Regions from separate parts of the Homo sapiens genome. Here region 1 is linked to region 2. The links are contacts of gene promoters, found by promoter capture Hi-C in human tissues and cell types (Jung and others, 2019). All regions are on one chromosome and are shown on one strand. The core of a region is centred on a gene start or on the middle of the fragment in contact, and the rest is flanking DNA. Distances in the headings are between cores, read along the strand shown.

Region 1 (6,551 bases), core at 630-3,129, 380 kb before region 2:
TTTCAAAAGTAAAGGGATTAGTCATTTTTTTTCTTAAAATTCTTATGGATTGTCATAAAACATACTGATATAGCCTAACAATCCCTGTTCTGTAAAGCCCAAAAACATGAGAAAGTAAGAACTTGATATCAAACTTCAATTCCAATGTCACTTCCTCCAGGAAAATTTTCTGACCCCTCTCACTCTCTAAATCTAATACCTGCTGTTTAAAATTATAAATGTTGGCATTTATAAAACTCTTACTATAAGCCAGACACAGTGTTAATGCTTTATATGCAAAGCCATGTTTCCATTCATTTATTTCCTATTAAATCTAAATATTTAAAGTATATCCTCCTTGCCAAGCTTTGTGGTGAAATGAGTTTACGGTGATGAAAAAGATATGATCCTCACCCTCTTGAGCTACAGTCTAGGGAGGAAGATAAATATTGTATATACACAGAAGAAGATAGAATTAAAATTATTACAAGTACTGTGTAAGAAAACAACAGGCAGGTAGGAAAGAAAACAGAAACGTGAATAGAACTGATATACACTTTGAGATCAGGAGAAAGATGCTTGAGCTGTGACCTGTGAAAAGATATTTAGGCTGAAATCTCAGAGATGAGTCACCATTAGTTGGTGGGAGTTGGGGTATTAGAGCATTTCAGAAAAGGAGTCAGCATGTTCTAAGGCCCAAAGTAGGGAAGACTTGGTATATTACAGGACATAGAGAAAGTGTGGCTGGTGTGTAACAAGTAAAGGAGAGGGTGAGAAAGATGAGATTGATGAGAGGGGCAGAGACTGGAATCTAGCATGATTGCAAGGAGTTTTTATTTTATTCTAAGTGATTTCATAATAAGTATATCTCATAAAATCAAAACACCTTTTGAGATGAATACTACTGTTGTCTTCACTTTACAGATAAGGAGACTGAGAGACAACGTAATTTGCCTAACATCACACAGCTAGTGAGGGGTATAGGTAGTATTAGAAACCAGACTTCAAATACCCATGTTTGAGCTCTTAAAAAAATTACGCTGAACCACCTCTATATGGCAAGAGGATCTTATGCAAATCACCATTATAACATGTACCGTCATTGTATTTCAGTACTTATATCACATAATAGCACTATGTTTTAACTGATTACTTATCTTTATCTTTCATGTAAAAGCACTATGTTTTAAATGATTATTTATCCTTATCTTCCTGCGGACTGAAAGCTCCCTAAAAGCAGGAACCAGATCTTATTTGACACACTGCCTTGAACATAGCAGGGCCATACTCTCATTGCATGAATGAACACTCAAGTATGTAAAGTAGGACAGACATTGAGCTAATCAAATCTATGTCTCTAAGGCTTATCCTTTAAAAAAATGTTTAGGGGAACAAAGAAGATAAAGTCAGGAAAGGCTTTTTAGACAATCTGTTATGAATATCTGTAAAATATTAAATATAATTTAACCTGTTCTTTGTTTTCTTCATGGAGGTCATGGAGAATGATTTTCTTATTCTCATGAATAGATTTTTAAAAAGTGATATGGTTTCAGGGCACTTTAACAAGAAACCAACACATTTTAAAGTGATTTTTTGTGTTTTTCTTTCAAGGTACTGTTTCACCCCATGGAAGGAGTCTGACCATAATGGTCGCAACCAATGCTAGAAAATAAAAACTCAAATTGTACTTTATAAAGCTAGTTTTTTCTAGCACTATTAATAGCGATTAAGTAAACATATTATAACCATATTGCCATTTACTGGAGCCATACTAAATGCTCTCTAGATAATTCTGCATTCATTTATTTTATTAATAAATTTAATTAAATTTTTATTGAGTGATTATTATGTGCCAGGCACTCTTAGTCTCAATCATAGCTAACAAGGAGTCGATACACTCTGAAAATTTCATGCTGTTCTTGAACAAAGGATTTTATTAAGCCGCAGGAATTAACCAATATGATATTCATTCATCAAGTCATGATGACCTGTGACAAAATGGGCTCAGAGTATCCCAGAATGGAAAAATTCCAGAAAGATTCTGCCACAAGTAACTTTCTGTGTTCCTCAGCCAATGTCTCAGGAGATTCTCTTCCAGGACTTCAAACTTGGCTCTGTGCTGCTTTCTTCCTTTCCTCCCCGGTGGCCCTGAGTAGGGGGTGTTGAAAAAAGCCTAAGCTCAGAGAGGCAGTGAGGGCAGAAAATTTATTTTATTACATGTCATGAAATGTAAATATGTATATTCATTACTCCAGTTAACTTGGAGCAACTTATTACAAGGTATTATATTTTCCTTCTATTTCTCACCTCATTCCTGACCCCAGAATGAAATGGAGAACTGGAGATTTATTCTCTCATTCTCTCTCTCTCTCTCACACACACACACACGCACACACACACACACGCACGCACACACACACACGCGCGCGCGCACACACACACACACACACTCCTTCTATCAGTGAGGAGGCCAGGCCACCTCTTCGCAGTTTCTCCCTGTGTTGACCTCAAGGTTAAGTCTCACTACCCCTCAAACAGCTTCCTAACTTCTTGAGCTGGAGTACCTTTCAGACTCTCCAGAACTCCTCCTTCTATATATGGCTCCCTTTCCTAGATAATTTCTCTCTACCAAGGCATGTCCTTACACACCTATTCCTTTGATTTCCTGTGATCACATTTCTAGCTGATTTGCCTCTGCTCTGCTGTTGTATTCCTTTCTGAATCCTGCTTTGGTGACTCAAACACACAACAAACTATTTTGTTGTTTGACAATTTTTTTTTCTGAGGCCTTGCCCTAAATCCCAGCTACCAATTCTGAGATGATGTAGCAATCATATTTACATGCCTGACCTCTACATATACTAAGACCCCACATCTACATGTAATAAATAGCCATGGTTTCTTTATAATAAAATATACATACACAGTCTGTATATACAGTAACCTCCTCAATAGATTGGAGAGAGTTGTAAGTCTTCATCTGGACTTGAAAAACACATGACAGAAACTGCCAATTACCTGCTCATTTCATATACTTGGGGTTAGAATATGCCCAAATAAAAATTACCTTTCCCAGCCTTTCCTATAGAGGGAATATTGCCAATATGAAAACAGGAGCACTTACATGTCTTTGGGCAGCACTTCCAGAAGAACATGTTTTGCCCTCCTGTTCCTTCCCATCTCCCTTCCTGCTATTTAAGCACCTGAAGCACAGATGGTGTGACTGAGCAGCCATCCTGTGACCTTGAGAGTGTCAGTCTTCTAAGATTTTGGCAGGGCAGAAGGACAGGAAGAGTGTGAGTCCCTGGAGCTTCATGAGGCAACCACAAGGGCCCTGGACTGCCTACCACAGGACTACATTTATTTAAGCCAATGTAGTCAAAGCTTAAATGAAATTCCCTGTGTGTGCGTGTGTGTGTGTGTGTGTGTGTGTGTGCGTGTGTGTGATTCCTAATTGATACATGTATGGGTATGTGTCTCTTTGCATGCAAACAAACATATTTATTGTTATATGGCCTGAGCACTTTATGTACTTTTTAAGGATTACATGAAAAAAATAATCATAAAATACTTGGCACAGAATATGACACAGAGCAAGGAATCTATAAACATTAACTACTATTTCCTTTAATCTTCTCAACACCCGCAGGAAGCATGTAGTATCATTCTCATGTTACAGGGGAGGAAATGGAGTCTTAAAGGGGGTAAGTACTAAGACTTGATTCATGCAATTAGCAAGCAGCAGAGTCAGGATTTGAACCCAAGTCTACCTAATTCTAGAACTCCAAGTCCTAAAGGCAAGGTACACTGCCTCATTCAGCAAGGCACGGAATCTCAGTGAAGAGAGGCCAAGCAGCCATCCTGTGTGCCGAGGAGGGGGTTTCTGTAACAAGGAGTCAGAGGAGAGAACATGAGTTGAGCCTGAAGGTCCCCATGGCGAAGTCTCAGGTCTGCCACTTGCTGGCTTTGTCATCTTGGACAAGTCATCTCTGCTCCCTAGGCCACATTTCTTTCAACTTTACAGTGAAGAGATTGACTTGATTCTCTCTATGGTTCTTTCCAAATCTAGAATGTCATCAATTAATGATTCTCTATAGTCAGTTTATTGAAATAGTACTGTAAAACAAAACCTGATTTTGAGGTCTGAATAATATATTTTGGTCTCTGTGAAGTCCTTTTTTCTAGATACTTTTTGATTCCCCTTTTGTCTTCTGATAACGTAGACATTTTATCAGTCTCCCATAAGCTTTTAGAAAGAATTGCCTGTATTCATGTATAGTAGGAATAAACAATGTGGGGACCAAAGGAAATGAGCAGAGAGGCAAGAGGTAGAAAGGGCTTCACGTTTAGGAGATGGGGTAAAAACAGAGAAGCAGCATATTGCCATAGAGGTACACAGTGTTGCTGTGTTTTGAGTTCTGCCTTAGTGTCTTCTTGGTTACTTTTGTACTCTTGCAGGCAGTTGCCAAAAGATGAGCCGTCAACTGCAGTAGGGCAGATAGAATTTTGAATTAGAGAGGCCTGGGTCTCAATTTTAACCCTCCCATTGCTAGCTTAGTGACCTTAGACTTTACCCATCCATTTGCTGTGTCACTATAAATAAGTTATTCGACTTCAGTTGCTCATTTACAACCTGAGGTTAGCAACAGTCTTCACTTCTAACGATTGTTGTCTAGTGTATATAGAAGCTTAGAACAGTGCCAGTATGTAGAAGCTTAGAACAGTAGACTCTACACAAAAGTTAAGTTGTATGAGCATAAGTCCTATTTGGGCGTTGAGCAAATCTACAAATTCAAAGTTTAAAGAGTATATGATTGCTGTCATATTTTATGTGGCCAGAGGAGTCTTTGCTAGCATTTCACAAATGCCCCTTGCTAAATTAGCTAAAACTTCTGAGACAGGCATCACAGGCTTCAAGATTTGTAGAGTCTAGTCTGGTAGCAGTTTTGTGGTTTTCTTTTTAATGATTATTTTAGTAGTAGCTTGTTGTTTGCTTAGTTCTGAAAAGCAAACTCCACTCAAAGACTCACTGTTATACCGTTCAAATTTATTTTAACATAATTTGTAGAAAGACATGAGTTGGGAATTTGTCAAAGAAACTTGCAGAGTCTAGGCAGGGGCACTTCACTTGGAAAGTGTTAGCCAAGATCCAGATAAGCCAGATGGCCTCAAGTTCAAATTATAACATTTTCTTCTCTTCTGTAGCTTTGAAATATCTAAATATTTGGATTAAATACATCAGGATTACTATAAGCACGAAATACTGATCCATCGTGCTTAACAGTGAGAATTGTTGCCATCCCTATATGTTTCATATCACATAATTTAAATGTAATGAAAGGTAAATTTTTAGAAACTGAACCTTTTAGAAAGAAATCTACAGGGTGCTTTCACCTAGGCTATTTCTTTTGATGGGCTACTGGGCAGCTGTTAGTTTCAAATAAACTCAATACTAGATTTGCAACAGATGTTCCTAAAACGGAACAAATAAGAGAATTACTGAATTTCTTACAAAGACAGATTAAACCTGAAAAAATAATTGAGATCTAGCAAGGCAGTCATTAACATGAGGAATGAAATTAAGCATGTTACAAAGAATAATTCAAATGTTTCTCAACTAAGAGGCAAGAGGAAGAGCTCTTTAGTCAGTTTTGTTTTTCTTTATTCATCCGTTCAACAGACACTTATTACTGAGTTTCATTTGGTGCTATTCCAATTTGTTGCCGTCTTCTTAAATTATACACATGGGAATGTTAAAACTACAGCTTGTCTGCACTAATGCATTTTATTAAGTAAAATTTCACCATGCCATGGAATCATCATTGCAGAAGTTCATGGACTCACAGCCACAATTTCTTTAAGGTTTTCTCATTTCCATATAGCAGATTCTTTTTTTTTGTATAATGTTTCAACATTACTTTAATAGCAAAATCTCAAAATAGTGAAATAGCAAAATTCACTAATAGCAATTTATGAATAGCAATTCACTAAGCAAAATTCACAAAATAGTGAAATAGCAAAATCTCAAAATAATAGACACTAGGTATCTGAGAGTAGAAGAAACTGAGATTTCTCTTTTACTTTATCCAACTGTATTTAAATTTCTCATTTACTTGTCTATAACCTCCAGCAGATTGTAAACCTCCATAGCCCAGTGACCTTCTTTGCTCTTTCAATATTGTCATCTCAGTTCTTAACATAACAGCTGGCATTGAGGGAACACTTAAAAGAAGAAGAAATATTTGCTGAAAATTATAGAGGAACACAGGCAGGTATAAAGGCAGACAATAACTCATTTTCTTCTCTGCTCATTTGCCGGGTGATAGACACCAGTTGTATACAAATGATGGAAAGGGCTCTAAGGGTTATAGTTTAATTAATTTAATTTAGTTAACTCTGTATCTAGTGTAGTTCTCAATTTTTTTGTCCTAAATGCAAAGAAGACACACCTATTCTTACCTACCACTTGCCTCTAAAACAAAAACCTAAACTATTAACTCACTAAATAAACATATAAAAAAGGCCCAGATGTAACTAATCACCTATTGCTAATGTAAAACAAAACTGAAATT
Region 2 (7,169 bases), core at 1,251-3,750:
AGATTAAATAAAAAACAGTTCTTTTCTACTTGTGGGATTTTGCATGGAGGCTGCTATAGAGAAGGGTGCTTGTGAGAAGATGCCTTATAAAATGAAATACAAACGTTCCAGTGATTTCTGCAGCATTCAATCTTCCCAACAGTTCCCTGAGCTGAATATTATTACCCTCACTTACCAATGAGAAACTAAGCCTGAGAGAGGTTAACTACATTACCCCAGGCTACATTTGGTAAGCGGTGGGGCTGAAATTTGAAATCAGACTGTTGTGACCTCAGACCATCACATGCACTGGCCGGAGTAATTTTATGAGTCCTGGTTGAAGGCCAAGTATTCACCTTTGCAATGGATCCAAAAGATGCTGCCCAGCACACAGTCCAAAGAGGCAGTAATCCTCCAGAGGGAATGACCATGTATCATCCACAGTGCTCAGGGTGTCTGCTCCACATAATAGATGCTCAACAAACAAAACCTTTGTGAAGTCACTGTACAGCAATAAGATTTATTTCACCTATGGAGGTAGTGAAATTTTCTTTGGCAGTTCTGGAGGTTAGATAGAACCTAAAAGTTGATAGCTTAATAGAAGCATTTGTAACCCCAGCAAGATAAACAGACACAACTTCAAAGGCCAATTCCAATAAAATGCTGAGGGGCAAGAAAACCTGGTTTGTTCTTTCCCAGATTCTCGTCACCTGAGGTCAGGAGTTCGAGACCAGCCTGGCCAACATGGGGAAACTGTCTCTACTAAAAATACAAAAATTACCTGGGCGCGGTGGCAGGTGCCTGTAATCCCAGCTACTCGGGAGGTTGAGGAAGGAGAATCGCTTCAACACGGGGGCGGGGCGGAGGTTGCAGTGAGCGGAGATCGCGCCACTGCACTCCAGCCTGTGTGACAAGAGCGAAACTCCGTCTCAAAAAAAAAAAAAAAAAAAAAAAAAAAAAAAAACAACGCTAGCAAGTGGAATTATTTCAAAAGCAACAGCCTTGTTTCCTGAGTGATCTGAGCTCAGGAACTCTGCCTGGGCATCTAGACAGGAGAAAGTATCTACAGCGTGGGGAGATCTGAGTCAGAATTATAGAGCACAGTGCTGAAGCCATACATTTTCCTGGATTTAGACAGTTTCCTCCTCCATTTGCCTTTATTTCCTTGCATTCTCTTTTCATCGGCTCCATTTTTGCTGAGTATTCCTTTGCTTTATTCCCAACGAAAATCGAAAAGACTTGATGTTCTGAGAAATTCTGAGACTGGCAGTTTTGATTTTTCTTAAAAGGATAAAAATTGCATCAGTCAACACCTCCCTCCACACTCCCCCCACACACATCCTCATCTTCCTGGAAGATGATACAGTATCCTAGAGCGTTGTGGAGAGGATGGAGAGGTCAAGGAAGCCCTGGCTTTGCAGAGGCACCTGTCAAGTTCGGGTTAACAGCTGCCGCCTGTGTCTGCCCTCTGCAGTCCAGGGAAATAGTACCCACACGGTGAGACTCCACCGATCCGGAACTGGAGAGGGTGGGGGGTTCTAAGGTTTAGTGTGACACAAATGTCAGGGCAGAACTTTCAAACAGGCTGAGCCCCAGTTCAACGTGGGTGAGTGCGCCTGAGAGCCCAGCTCTGGGAATTGAGCAGACTGAAAATGTGGAGAGTAGTTTGGCCAGTGAAAAATTGTCACCGTGTTCGGATCAATGCTTTGAACCCGCTTTTAAGTGCGCCACGTTCACTTGGGTCAGGCTCTGGACATTGCGGTGGGCTGAGGTTTTCGCGGGCACGATCCCCCACACTGAGTTTTCATGGAGACGACCAGGGCCGTCGAGGCGGGGAAGGGAACGGACTAGAGGCTGAACTTTGGCTTCTTGCTCTGAAAGATCACTCCTCCGGTTCCGGGGCAGAGACTCAGACCAGCCTGTGGGATTACACGAGACAGGATCGAGTCCAAACGGGTCCCCAGCTCGGCAAGGCGCGCCGGAAGGAATCTAAGTGTTTAATTAACTGCCCCCTTCACACACCCCCCGAAGGAGAAGGAACTCAAATAGGCACCCCTACCCAAATCGTTTGATCAGAGGAAATTGGGTTTGTCTCTCCCCCACCCCCCACCCCGTCCCTTCACTCTTCCTGTGTTTCAGTCCATCGGGATTGTTGGTTAAAAAAAAAAAAAAAAAAAGGCTTATAATCGGGGGCGGGGCAGAGGCTCCGAGCGAGCCGCACTTGCGACTCTGGACCGCGGTTGGTGAACTTTTTTCTCCCTGCGCATAATCCGCCTGCTGCTCTGCCCCACTGGCTGCGCGTGGAGCCGGTCCCAGGCCTGCTCGCAGCCCTGCCCCCGGGCGCGGCCCGAGCCGGGCCCGACCTCGCTTTCAGGGCCGAGCCGGGGTACGCGTGGGCGCGCGCCCAGCGGCCTCGATCCCGCGGCGGCGTCCGCGCTCCGCGTTTTCGCTCGCGCCGGGCCCCGCGGCCGAGGGCGGGGTGCGCGGCGGCGCCGCAGCGCGCGGCTCCGGAGCCCGAGCGCACTCCGCCTGCAGCCCAGCTGCCAGCGCCGTCTCCCGCGGCCGCCGCCGCCCGACAGCGCGCCCGGAACATGCCAGCCTCGCGCAGCCTGCGCTGACTTCCCCGAGACGCGCCGCGGTCGGCACGGAGACTTTCTGGGCTCTGGATGGTTCGTGCGCTGCTCACCCTCGCCCACCCCTGACGCCGCGGACCGCAGCTCCTCAGCCCCGCAGCCCCGCAGCCCAGCAGCCCCGCAGCGGCGCCGAGGACAGTGCAGCCGAGTTGCGTCTCCCTCGCGCGAGGTGAGTGGCAGCCTGGATCCCGGCGGATTCCGCAGAGGGGGCTGCGGCGCGGTGGTGGGGGGCGAGCGCCGCAGGGGTAGGGCCGGGCACCTTCGCTGGCACCGCCGGAGTCTGTGACACCCAGACTGGGTCGGTGTCGCAGAAGATCAGGGAGAAGGTCATAATCGGTTTGTTGGGCTGTGTAGACAGGGAAAGCAGATATTGGCTGCAGCATCGCCAGGGCTCCGCAGAGGCTCTCCGCATGGCTCCTGTTTGCTGCATCACAACCAACTCTTCCCTTGGTTTTCTCCGGCGTGGAAACAGGTTCTGTAGCCCGAGGGTCGAGGCGATGCGGGGCGCCGGGAGGCGAGGGTGCGTTGGCGTGTTCCCGCCGCTTAGGATCGCCTGTCACCTACTGGCGTCCGGAGGGAGGGTACCGATTCTCTCCTCTAGCGCTGGGGAAAGGGGCTGGTGGCTTTTTGGCAGAGGCGAATCAACTCCCACCACTCTCCCCAACCCCCTGCCCCGCGATGGTGTTTGCTGAATGTAGCACAGATATAGGGAAAAAATGGGAGCGTCTTCCTCTCTTGAGGTAGAAAAAGTTGAAGAAACTAGGCATGTTAATAGTTATTAGGAGCGGGACTCAGGATGCAGCAGAAAGCTGTTAAATTTTCATTACCCTCTAAGAAAAACAAACGGCATCGCCAGTGACTATTGGCAGTGCTGTGTTATTCTTGGGACTTTGGGAAAATTGTTCACAGATTGTCTTCAGGAGGCTGAAGAACGAGGTTGGGGGTTGGGAGAGAGGGAGGACGGCTGCATCACGCTTAGTTCCAGCTTGCCTAAGGAGGGTTCAGGATCACAAGCCGAACGCGTTTGGTTGCTGATTTTTAAAAGGGTATCAGCGGCAGAACTGAGACCATGAACAAGGCAAACACACCACGGGAACCAGCCTAAAGGAAAAAAAAAAAGCACCAACAACTACAACCAAAAAAACATGTAAAAATCTGCCTCTCCTGCAGAGTTAACATGCATTTGTGCTATCAAATGGATGCATGTATATGTGTCTTTTAGGATAAGTTTTATGAATGACAAATCACTGAAATGGTATCTTGTATCTGTTCATGCATACAGTGTTGTCTACTGCCTCGTCTTAATCAGTACTTTGGAAGGCTGTGCCTGCAGTTGATGTTATATAATTGATGTGGTTCACCATCAGACATTTTTTAATGTACTTTAGGAGTAGAGGGAACTTCCATCTGTCTTTTCAGACAGGCCCAAGGTGTAGACTGGTGAGGGTTGCTAATGTTTGCCGTAGTCCGGCTCCAGATGTGTGAGCTCAGCTGTTGCCTGTCACTTAGGTGACAACTGGCCCTTTCCCACTAAGCCTTTGCTGTCTCCATTATCCTCAGTGAAGTGTCAGTGTTCAGCCGCCTTCTATTATCAGGAGTGGACTCTAGCCCCTTGGGAGCCGGCAGCCTTGTTTGACCGTCCCCAACATTATGTCTGTTTTCAGACTCTAGAAAGGAAAAAAAAAACAAAAAAAAATCCCATGACAGCAAGATAGATACATTTTGAATTGAGCATCAACTTAATCCAAAGATTCTGCTTTAATCAAGACAGTTCTGTAAGGATGACGCAGTATTTGTCAAGGCTTTTCTCTGGAACAATATTTACTCCCACCAGGGGATTTTAAACTTAAACAGCAGCCATTCATCTTGCTGTCTGGTGGAGCCTGGTTCAGTTTGCCTCCAATGTGGTCCTAGCCTTGGTGGCTAGGCTTGGCCTGGGACAGGAATCTGTCATTGTAGCCCAGCTGGAGCCTGAAGAAAGCAAAATACAGCACCTGCTGGTACCAGAGGGTTTCTAAATGCCATCAACTGGCGAGTCAGGAAACACAGAAGGAGATATTTTACCAGCTCTTCCAGAAATGTTTATACAAAGGATTTAGAGGTTAACAATGCATGTGCTCTACATATTAAAACCGAAAGGTGCTACAAATAAATGGATGTTACCCACAGTTAAGGGTTTGCACACTTGCTGATGAACTTGAAAATCTCCAAGTTTAATAAGTCATGGCTAATGTAGTATGATTCATTCTTATAAATAAGCCTCAAAAGGAAGGAAGGAAGGAAAAGAGGGAGGGATGGAGAGAGGGAGGGAAAAAGGAAGGAAAAACTGGATAGTTTATAGAGATAGACATATTGATGCAACTGAATGGGCTTAGTAAATTAATTTTTCCATCTTTAATTTGGTACTAATTGGCGAGTTATCACCGAGTGAGCCTGTTGGTTCATAGGTTTTAAAAAGAAAAATGATATATTTTACTAAAGTGACAGATTCAATCAGTTCTGCCAGTAACACCAGTGAAGCTTAAAAAGCTTATTATGTTTTTATAATCAAGGTCCATGGAAGCACTATTTGTCCATGGTGTGTGGTGGTGTAATAAGTCAGCTTGAGTCCCCCAGATAAAATCTAATATTAGCTAGGGAGAAATAAAGATCTCCTATAGGGTTAATAGCTGAACTCTTAACTTTAGAGTCAGATGTAGGTAAGTCTAGTTGTTCCTAATATTCTCTCTTTTGATAATTCTGAAAAGACCAAAAAAGTTAAATTTTGCAGTTTCTTTGATTAAGGCTTTTAAAAAGTAAGCTGAATTATAAGTTTTAAAAGTTGCATCATAATTTCTCTAAAATCTCTTATAATTACTTGAAAGCAAAATACAAAGAATTAAGTATTATGAGTGATTGTCTATAATACTCATGAAATGGAACAAGAATCTTTACAAAGTATTTTCCAGTAATTAAGTAACTCTCTTAATGGCCTATACCTATATTTTGGGCTCTCTAATATCATGGGAAACAATTTTCAGTAAAGATTATCATTACTTATATTCTACTTACTGCAGTTAATTTCCTGGTTAAAATAGTTTATAAAGAGCAAATTTTTCCTTTTAAAGAAAGACAGGAAAGCTACATGTAGTGGTGCTTGGCTCTATAGCCCCAGCTACTGGGGAGGATCGCTTGAGCCCAGGAGTTCAAGTTCAGCCCAGCCAACATTGTTAGACCCCATCTCTGGGGAAAAAAAAAAAAAAAGGTAATTTTAAAAAATCAAAGTGATTCTCATCTGTGAATAGAAATGTTAAAAGTATCATTTGACTAGGATAGACTCTTCCCCCTTGGAAAAAATAGCTGTCTCTCTCATCTCCATGTTATGTAAAATAATACCAACTGTTTAACCCTTATTAGTGAGAGAATATTAAGATTGCCTAAATCTATGTATGATTATTCCACAATAAAGAGAAGGAGTTAGGAAAGTGAAAGGATTGTGTTTCTGGGTTGCTTGGTTGGTCGATTGGTGTTTTAAGGGACCATTACTTCTTTTTCTTCTGGTCACAGAAGAAAGGATTATTGGATTGCACAATAATATCTTTAGAAGGTTGGTGTGAGCAAGCAAGTTGAGAGAGGGAAGTACAGTAATCTGGGCACCAAGTCCTGCATTGTTGCAGTTCCTCGAAACCTCATGCAGCCTATGGAGCCAGCGCTCCACAGCACGTTCCAAGGACCAAGATGGCATTGAGGAATCTGGAGCAGCCCCAAGCCTCTGACTTCCCCATCTCTGGACACACAGAAATGTAGCGCTTCATCTGCCCCAGTAACTGGTAATCACATCCCCTTGTTTATGGTCATGCTGAACTGAAGTGGAGGTTAATTACCTACGTGTTGATGAATGAACATTTTGGAGCAGTGAAAAAAGCCTGGCCTAAAATTGTATGGGGAATCTGAGTAAGCTGCTATTTCCCCCCACTTCCCCTCTCTCCTGAAGCAGGGATGGCGAACCAGACAGGCTTTACAGGTTGGAGCACGCTGATGTCATGACACTTCTGGCACAGAGATATGATAGAATAATCAGATCACTTTTCTGTATGCCAGAATGACACAATTTTTCCAAGAACCATTCCTGAGCCACTGGTCCACTGGCATTGACTATTTCCAGTTGTGGGGGGTGGGGAGGGTGATCAAACCTCTCAGAATGTAATAATTCTTCCTGTGTCTCAGTTTTATGCACTTGTTTAGACTAAACTCTAAATGCATTTTGGTTATTTTTGAAGGGACCTCTCCAGGAACAAGAATGATTGCCCAGCCTGAACCGATTAGACCTTTCCAGCTTCATTCTCCTATAAAGAGAGATTTTACATATAAAATAAAAGTAAAAATGTCAGCCAGGCAGAAGCCAATGTAAACATTTTAAAATGTAAGCTGCAAACTAGCAAGCAGCTATCATTTGCCTTTACTTAACTTTCTTCTCCCCTAAGTTTGGTCCTAAGTGAGCCTAAAAGTCAACTGACCAATTCAACAGCAGTTGCATTTTTCTCACTGGTAGATTTGGGGTAAACTCTTGGGAGAGAT

What was found. Contacts are between HindIII fragments. The study calls those that stand out against the background at their distance.
Region 1: a fragment that was not itself captured here is called in contact with the fragment with the promoter of PRICKLE1 in region 2 in 3 of the 25 tissues and cell types used here (dorsolateral prefrontal cortex, mesenchymal stem cells and mesendoderm cells).

The regions. Positions count from the first base shown.
Region 1 is chr12:42,962,698-42,969,248 of GRCh38, reverse strand. No RefSeq gene overlaps it. Among named protein-coding and RNA genes, the nearest start is that of LINC02461, 190 kb to the left of the region's middle. The HindIII fragment of the contact is 5,134 bases long and covers 1-4,446 here.
Region 2 is chr12:42,585,077-42,592,245 of GRCh38, reverse strand. PRICKLE1 (prickle planar cell polarity protein 1) reads left to right here and starts at 2,500. Exons shown (of 8, transcript NM_153026.3): 1 at 2,500-2,781. RefSeq lists an enhancer at 1,220-1,777 and a silencer at 2,247-2,496. The HindIII fragment of the contact is 9,160 bases long and covers 1-7,169 here.